2 separate regions of the Homo sapiens genome follow, and region 2 is linked to region 1. Evidence: promoter capture Hi-C in 16 types of primary human blood cells and fetal thymus (Javierre and others, 2016). All regions are on one chromosome and are shown on one strand. Each heading gives the region's core, a stretch centred on a gene start or on the middle of the fragment in contact. The rest is flanking DNA. Distances are from core to core; before and after follow the strand shown.

The links. The method cuts DNA at HindIII sites, captures the fragments that hold promoters and counts their contacts. A CHiCAGO score of 5 or more calls a contact.
Region 2: a fragment that was not itself captured here is called in contact with the fragment with the promoter of GTF2IRD1 in region 1 in 14 of 17 cell types (megakaryocytes, fetal thymus, activated CD4 T cells and 11 more); the score reaches 16.2 in megakaryocytes.

The regions. Positions count from the first base shown.
Region 1 is chr7:74,450,777-74,455,155 of GRCh38, reverse strand. GTF2IRD1 (GTF2I repeat domain containing 1) reads right to left here and starts at 1,250. Exons shown (of 27, transcript NM_005685.4): 1 at 980-1,250. RefSeq lists silencers at 628-697, 1,200-1,549 and an enhancer at 2,435-2,954. The HindIII fragment of the contact is 10,217 bases long and covers 1-4,379 here.
Region 2 is chr7:74,566,221-74,570,599 of GRCh38, reverse strand. All of the region lies in intron 22 of GTF2IRD1 (GTF2I repeat domain containing 1), which reads right to left. Among named protein-coding and RNA genes, the nearest start is that of MIR10525, 28 kb to the left of the region's middle. The HindIII fragment of the contact is 4,554 bases long and covers 1-4,379 here.

The sequences.
Region 1 (4,379 bases), core at 1-2,500:
GGATGGGGACACAGGAGACTCCCACCGCAGGACCTTGGTCCTGGGAGGTAGGGTCACTAGGCCAGACGCCAGAGCTCCAGCCCCCTCCAGCACTGCCAGGAGGGTGGAACGAACTCTCAGCGGCACAGCGGCCCCCTTCCCTGGGCCCACGCCAGGCGAGGCAGGGTCTCACTCCCTGGCTGCTGGCCAGGGGTGAGGAGCCCAGGAGAGGTGTCAAGCCCATCATGCCCAGGGTACTTAGGATGGGGCGGGTGGGTGTTCAGCACCCTGTGGCCCCTCCTCTGTCCTCTCCACCCATCTGCAGGAACTCAGAGACCACCCACAGACCGAGTATCCCCAACTTACTCCTCTGAACCCTTTGTGGTCCCCCCACTGCCACCTTCTGAGTCCCCTCCACCCGGGATTCAGCGGCCACCACCACACAGGCCAGCCCCCTCCCCGGGGCCGGGGCGGGGGGTCCACTACAGGAACCACCCTGCTGGGGCAATCCTGGCTGGACTGGACTCCGCCTGGGAGTTGGGGGCGCGGGCCAGGGGCTGGCCCAGACCGGGAGAAGGTGGAGGGGGGAAAGGCGGGGACCGCGGCCTTCCCAGCCCCCTCTGCTCCCACCCCGGCGCCCGCCACCGCGGGCAGCGCGACTGACCTCATTCGCCAACTGCAGCAGCCTGCGGGCGCCGGCCCGGGACGCCCCCCACCTCCAGAAGAGCCGGTGGCAAGGAGGGAGGGGGTGACAGCTCCCAGCTCCCGGCCCCTCCCGGGCAGGTGGGGGGCGGCCGTCCCTCCCCTCCCCCCGGGCCCGAATTATAATCCCAGTCACGTGCCTCCCCGGGCACCCAAAAGCCGGCCCCAGCTCCTGTAACACCTTGAGAGGGGGAGGGGCGGGGACCCCCCCCCCCGGAGGCGGAGGGGATCGGGGGCGGGGGTGGGGGAGAAGGGGAGAAGGGCCTCGGTGCCCGCCCCCCGCAAAAGTTTCTCCTACCTTGGAGGATCCCCAAGCGCTCCTGCCAGCGGCGCCCCGGCCCCGGCCCGCGGCCAGGACTCAGCCTCCTGCCGCTGCCTCCTTAATTAATCCGGGAGAATGGGGGAAGGAGAGGCAGAGGGAGGCGAGGACGGCGGCGCGGCGAGGGCGGGGAGGGAGGCGCGGGGAGGGGGCGCGGGGGGGGAATCGGCCGGCCGGGGGGCTGGCGCTCGGCGGCCCCCACCCCCGGCGCGGGCTGCGGCGGAGGGCGGGGCGGCGCGGGGAGAGGAGCGGAGAGCGGGAGCGCGGGGAGGCTCTTTGTTCTGTAATCCCAGTAAGATTGCCAGCCATTCGCCCCGGCCCTAATCCCAGCCCCGCGCAACACCACCCTCCATTGGCTGCCATTTACATACGGGATTAGCCCGCCCCGCGCCCCGCGCCCCTGCGCACCCCCCTTGCTACCCAGCGCCCCTGCGTCCCGGGGACCTGGGCACCGCGGTGGGGAGAGCGCGCCGCACCCCTCGGCCCCGGACCTGCGGGGAGGGGCGGTGGCGCCCTCGGTTCTCCCCCACCAGCGCCGGATTAGAAAAGCCTGGGCGCGCCCCCGTCTACCCCCACCGCTCCCCACCACCACTGGGAGAGCAGCCGGGCGCAGGGGGCTGAAGTTGGAGGGTCAAGGTCACCCAGCTGGAACGCGCGGAGGCCCTGAGTGTCCCGGCTGGTCACTCCCGCCTGGCCCGGGTTCTAGTCCTAAGGCTTGGGCCAGGTACCTCTTACTCTTACAGCCTTTGTCCCCCTCCCACCCCTGAGATGTGCAGGAAGGCAGTGACAGGCCGAAAGTCGCAGCAGAGCCAACTGGACTCTTGGTCCCATCTTGTCTGATGGGACCTCCCTCTGATAGGCTTTTACCCCTGTCCCCCCAACCAGCCCCCCCGCCCCCCGCCCGCCCCGCTCCCACCAACCACACACACACCACAGCAGCGCTCCTACTGAATCAGTGCGCACGCCTCCCATCCGGCCCCAAAGCCATAAATCCTAATTCAGCACAAGGAACACAGTCCTTCCCCCACGTGGTGCCCTGATCCCTGAACTAGACCTTGGCTAGACTGGGCATGGCAGGGAGGGAGGGACTCACCCCAGGCAGGCCCCAACCCCAGGGAGCTTCTGGCTTAGAAGGACAGCCAAACATAGATCGAGAATCTCCCAGGTCCTGGCAAAACCCACAAGGTCTCCCCACAGCCTCCTGGCCAAACTGCCTTTGCAAAGATTAGGACAGTGACAGAAGTTTAGCGTGGCTGACTCCATCTTGCTTCCAGCCTCACGCGCTGGCTGTCTTCACTCATTCCGGGGCATAGGCCAAGCTAACCGGGGGAGGAATTTAGTTTATAGTTCAACTTTGAAACAAGGATGATAATAGTTACTCCTTAAACCTAACCTGCTTTTTATACAAGAGACCAAAACCACCTTTGTAAAACTAACGAAAGGCCGTGAGATTAGGATTATGGGAGGGGCCTGGACGCTGCTAAAACCTACGCATCGTTTTTATAATCTGACTGCTCAGGAGTCATGTGGCGAGAGATCACAAGATTTGTGAGTTCCCCACTTCCTCCTATAGATAGCATCTCTATTGTGGAAACTGAGATTGGTCTTTGGAGATGTTTTTCAGACTTTCGCATTCGGGCAACCGACTGACTCACCTGGACCTGTGTGACTCATGACTCAGCCCATCCTGTGGCCCCCACTCAGAGACCGACTCAGTGCATAAGGACCGTTTGCCACACCCCTGTGATTTCATCTCCAACCAATCAGCAGTACCCATTCCCTGGGCCCTTGCCCACCAAATTATCCATAAAAACCCTAGCCTCTGAGTTCTTGGGGAGATTTATTTGAGTAATAACTCCAGTCCTACTGCTTGGCTAGCTCTGCATTAATAAGACGCTTTTGGCTGGGCTCAGTGGCTCATGCCTGTAATCCCAGCACTTTGGGAGGCGAAGGTGGGTGGATTGCTTGAGGTCAGGAGTTCAAGACCAGCATGGCCAACACAGCGAAACCTGGTCACTAAAAATACAAAAATTAGCCGGGTGTGGTGGTGCATGCCTGTAATCCCAGCTACTCAGAAGGCTGACGCATGAGAATCACTGGAACCCAGGAGGTGGAGGCTGCAGTGAGCCAAGATTCAGCCACTGCACTCCAGCCTGGGTGACAGAGTGAGACTGTGTTTCAAAAATTAGGCCAGGCACGGTGGCTCATGCCTGTAATCCTAACACTTTGGGAGGCCGAGGCAGGTGGATCACTTGAGGTCAGGCATTCAAGATCAGCCTGGCCAACATGGTGAAACCCTGTCTCTACTAAAAACACAAAAATTAGCCGGGCGTGGTGGCAGGCACCTGTGATCCCAGCTGCTTAGGAGGCTGAGGCATAAGAATCGCTTGAACCTGGGAGGCGGAGGTTGCAGTGAGCCAAGATCGCACCACTGCACTCCAGCCTGGGCGACAGAGTAAGACTGTCTAAAAAATTTTAAAAATTAAGAAACATAAAACTATTTCTCGCTGTAATACCATGGTCTCAGTGAATTCTTCCTGTGCAGCGGCAGGAACACCCGTCAGACAATTACACTGGGGTCTCTTCTGGACACACACCAGGAACTTGGTGAGGGTTAACTTTGGCTGACCAGGTCTCCTATAGGAAACCCACAAACCCATCAGACTGAGAGCTCCTCCCAGGCAGGCCACATCTGCAGTGCCCAGCACAAGGCAGGGCGCAGAGGGGCCCTCATGCCCACAGAGGATGTTGGGCCATGTCAGGGTTGGGAATGAAGTCACCAATGCTCCCTCCATCCTTCACCACCCTCCTGTTGTAAGGAGGTCTGGGACATCTCAAGGCACCCTCCTGTGTGGCCCTCTGAGACCCAGGTCGTCTCCCACCCTGCCTCTTTCTCTTTTTCTTTTCTTTTTTTTTTTTTGAGACGGAGCCTTGCCCTGTCACCCAAGCTGGAGTGCAATGGCATGATCTCGGCTCACTGCAACCTCCGCCTCCCAGTTTCAAGCGATTCTCCTGCCTCAGCCTGCCGAGTAGCTGGGATCACAGGCACGCGCCACCACGCTGGGCTAATTTATTTTTTAATCTTTAGTATAGACAGGGTTTCACCATGTTGGCCAGGCTGGTCTCAAACTCCTGACCTCGTGATCCGCCCGCCTCGGCCTCCCAAAGTGCTGGGATTACAGGTGTGAGCCACCGCACCTGGCCCCTGCCTCTTTGTCTAATCACCTGCATGACCTTGAGCAAGTCAGTTTTCCTCTGTGAGTCTCCACTTCCCTCCTCCTGCAGCTTCTCATTGGACCACAGTGTGGCCCCCATGGTAGATAACACTGGTGATTGGCCCCTGCTTGTCAAGCATCTCCTAGGTGCTGGGTTGGTTGCA
Region 2 (4,379 bases), core at 920-3,419, 110 kb before region 1:
TTACTGCAGCTTTGACTTCCTGGGCTCAAGCGATCCTCCCTCCTCAGCCTCCCGAGTACCTGAGACTACAGATGTGTGCCACAACACTGGCTCAATGTTTTCATTTTTTGTAGAGACAGGGTCTCACTATGTTGCCCAGGCTGGTCTCCTGGCTTCAAGCAATCCTCCTGCCTTGGCCTCCCGAAGTGCTGGGATTACAGGCAATGAGCCACTGTGTCTGGCTTTTTTTTTTTTTTTGAGACAGAGTCTTGCTCTGTCACCCAGGCTGGAGTGCAGTGGTGTGATCTCAGCTCATTGCAACCTCTGCGTCTCAGGTTCAAGCGATTCTCCTGCCTCAAGCTCCCGAGTAGCTGGGATTACAGGCGTCCGCCACCATGCCTGGCTAATTTTTGTATTTTTTGGTGGAGACAGGGTCTCACCATGTTGGCCAGGCTGGTTTCGAACTCCCGACCTCAGGTGATCTACCCGCCTCAGCCTCCCAAAGTCCTGGGATTACAGGCTGAGCCACCGCGCCCGGCCCTGCTGTTGCTTCTGAGGTTTGAAAACCGCTGCCTCAATGCTCCTGACTCAGCTCTTCTTACCCAAAGGTTCCCCCACCTCGTCTACTCTGTTCCTGCACAGTCGCCCTTTCCTCCGATGCCCCGGGCAGGTCTCTCTCTGCCAGCTCCACGCTTCTGAGAGGCCCCCAGCCTGCCTGCCACCCTGCCTGCACTAAATACCACTCAGGTTTCACTATGGGCCCCTGGATGTGTCTCACAAGCCCACAGACCCAGCCTTAGAGACGAGCACCACCATCACCCTTCCGGAACCTTCCGCCCTCTTCACACCCTGCTGCTGCCTCTAGATCCTAACCCCATCCATCGTGGGGCCCAGCTGCCCACTGCCTGGGTTCAGACCTTCTCAACACTCCCTGGCTTCTCTGCCCTAGTTTTGCCTTCTCTAATCCACCCTTGGTGGGTGGAAATATGGTTACCATGGTAACCTGAAGACAGCGCAAATCTGATCGTATCATTACAATGACTGGAAAAACCGCCAGTGCCACAAAATAAAGCTCAAGTTACTAGCTTTGCAGGCTAGGCCCTTTACCATTCCGGCAGCATTTTTGGGGGCTATTCTCCATCCCCCCCTCACTGCACAACCCCACCTGGCCACCCCAGGCTCAGGCCGCAGAACAGCATAGACCAGGGAGTGGCTTTGGCCTCATGCTAACTACCTGATTTTTGTCTGTTTCAGGCTGTTTGCTCAGTTACAAAATGGGAAGGAAGGACAACAGCACCCACCTCACAGGCTAAGCGTCTAAGAGGCTGTGTGTGAAAAGCCCACAGCACAGGGTCTGGCACGCGTGGACGTGCGGGATGGGAGGAGGGGATTTCCCAGCTCCTAATCTCTGCAGGGACTGGCCCCTGGCCTAGGGAACACCAGCTCCTCAGGGAGGGGGAGCTTTCCCTGACCCCCCGATGTGTGGCAGGCAGAGGAGAGTGAGCTACTTCTGGGAGGGGAGTTGGGGGAAAGGGCAAGTTAGTCTTTACTGAGGGTGGCAGTGAGCTGGCATTTTGGTCTCACCTCGGCTGCAGAAACCCACCCTGCTCCCGTCTTATTTCCTGGGGATTTCAGCTGTGTGCAGGCACAGATGCGTCATCCAAGTGCCCCACACGTACCTTGACCTCTTCTCCTCCCTCTGGCCAGTCCTGAACCTCTTGGTGATCCATGGCGGCACCTCTGTGTCCCACATCCTTCTCTGGCCATCTCCTTCCCTCCTTCCAGCCCTCCCTCTAGAAACCTGACCCCAACTGTCCTTCATCCCCATGGGGACATTTAGTCCACTGACTCATCACCCTCCCCTGTCCCTCCCTGAGAGAAGGAGCAGGCAGAGAGGAGCTTGCATGAGCATTCAGCAACCCTCTTCCACCCATCCTGTTTCTTTCTTTTTCTTCTTCTTCTTCTTCTTTTTTGAGACAGAGTCTCGCTCTGTCGCACAGGCTGGAGTGCAGTGGCACAATCTCGGCTCACTGCAAGTTCCGCCTCCCGGGTTCACGCCATTCTCCTGACTCAGCCTCCCAAGTAGCTGGGACTACAGGTGCCCGCCATCACGCCCAGCTAATTTTTTGTATTTTTAGTAGAGACGGGGTTTCACTGTGTTAGCCAGGATGGTCTTGATCTCCTGACCTTGTGATCTGCCCGCCTGGGCCTCCCAAAGTGCTGGGATTATAGGCGTGAGCCACCACGCCCGGCCCTTTCTCCTTCTTTTTTTTTTTTTTTTTTAAATAGAGATGCAGTCTTGTTATGTGGCTGGTCTCAAACTCCTGGGCTCAAGTGATCCTACTGCCTCGGCCTCCCAAAGTGCTGGATTACAGGCGTGAGCCACCACACCCAGCTCCGTTCCCTTTCTAAGCAGGGTGCTCCTTTTCTTGCCATTCCCCCCATCCTCCTTCCTCTCCCACAGCTCACTTCCCTCTCTACTGAATCTGCTGAAGATCATGCAGCTGCTGTTCCTACCTCTAAAACCCTCTCTTGGCTGGGTGTGGTGGGTCATATATGTAATCCCAGCACTTTGGGAGGCTGAGGCAGGTGGATCATTTGAGGTCAGGAGTTTGACACCGGCTTGGCCAACATGGTGAAACCCCATCTCTACTAAAAAATACAAAAAATAGTCGGGCGCGATAGCACGCGCCTGTAATCCCAGCTACTCGGGAGGCTGAGGCAGGAGAATCACTTGAACCCGGGAGGCGGGGGTTGCAGTGAGCCGAGATCACGCCACTGCACTCCAGCCTGGGCAATAGAGCGAGACTCTGTCCCCTCCCTCCACCAAAAAAAAGAAAGCCCTCTCTGCAGCCATTCCACTCTCAACTCTTGTTCATTCTCTCCTGCCCTCTAAAAGGTGATCCTTTTAGACCTGACCCCCCCGATGTGTGGCAGGCAGAGGAGAGCAAGCTACTTCTGGGAGGGGAGTTGGGGGAAAGGGCAAGTTAGTCTTTACTGAGGGTGGCAGTGAGCTGGCACTTTGGTGCTTGGTCCTTGGCAGATTCAATCACTTGCCTTTCTCATTGTCTCTTGAGCCCACTATTCCACTCTGGTCCCCACCACTTCCCCCAAAATTGCTCTGAACCATCCCACTGCAACCTGTTGCTTAGCACCTCCGTCTACTCTCAGGCATTAGGACTGACCTCCCAGCAGAGGCTGGTGCAACCAATCACCCCCTTCAGTAAGTTTCTCCCTGGGCTTCACCTGCGGACTTTCCACCTCTCTCTCCTTTTTTTTTTCTTTTTTATTTTTGAGACAGGGTCTCGCTGTGTCGCCGGGTTGGAGTGCTGTGGTGCAATCTCAGTTCACTGCAACCTCTGCCTCCCGGGTTCAAGCGATTCTCCTGCCTCAGGCTCCCAAGTAGCTGGGATTACAGGCATGCGCCACCATGCCCAGCGAATTTTTGTATTTTTAGTAGAGACGGGGTTTCACCATGCTGGCCAGGATGGTCTTGATCTCCTGACCTTGTGATCCGCCTGCCTCAGCCTCCCAAAGTGCTAGGATTACAGGCGTGAGCCACTGCGCCTGGCCCTCCATACATTTTTGTTGTACAAATAAATGAACTCAAAGGATTAACTACAAGCCTAAAGGTTTACACAGGCAGGACCAGTGTAATAGCTGCTGGTAGCCAGGAGGGGACAGCAAAGAGCCACCCTGTGTGGATGAGACCAGAGGGGTGGTGGGAAAGAGGGCGTGGCTGCAACCCACTTCAGGGACACACAACAAGCCCTAGGCTAGTGGTAGAGCCTGCCCTGGGTTCCGAAGTATAATAAAATGGTAAAGACTTAGGTTCAAATCTCTACCACACTACTGTGTGACCTTGAGAAAGCTGCTTAATCTCTCTGAGCCTCAGTCCCCTCCAATAAGGCCAGCTACTTGGGGAGATGACGTGGTAACGTGAGTGGGCTTTGTAACCGGCAAATCGTAAGTATGACGTGGTCAGGCATGGTGGCTCACACCTGTAATCCCAGCAGTTTGGGAAGCCGAGGCGGGTGGATCGCCTGAGGTCAGGAGTTCGAGACCAGCCTGGCCAACATGGCAAAACCCCGTCTCTACTAAAATAGGAAAATTAGCCTGGCATGGTGGCGGGCACCTGTAATCCCAGCTACTTGGGAGGCTGAGGCAGGAAAATTGCTTGAACTCGGGAGGCGGAGGTTACGGTGAGTTGAGATCACACGACTGCAGTCCAGCCTGGGGGACAGAGCGAGACTCCGTCTCAAAAAAAAGTGTGACGTGAGTGTTAGGTGTCTGTGGTGTGAGGGGCTGCTCAAATGTCCATAACTGGGGGACAGGGTAGTTACATAACCATGATACAGCCTGAAGAGGGAACAGAGCTTTTTAAAGACATGGGAACATGT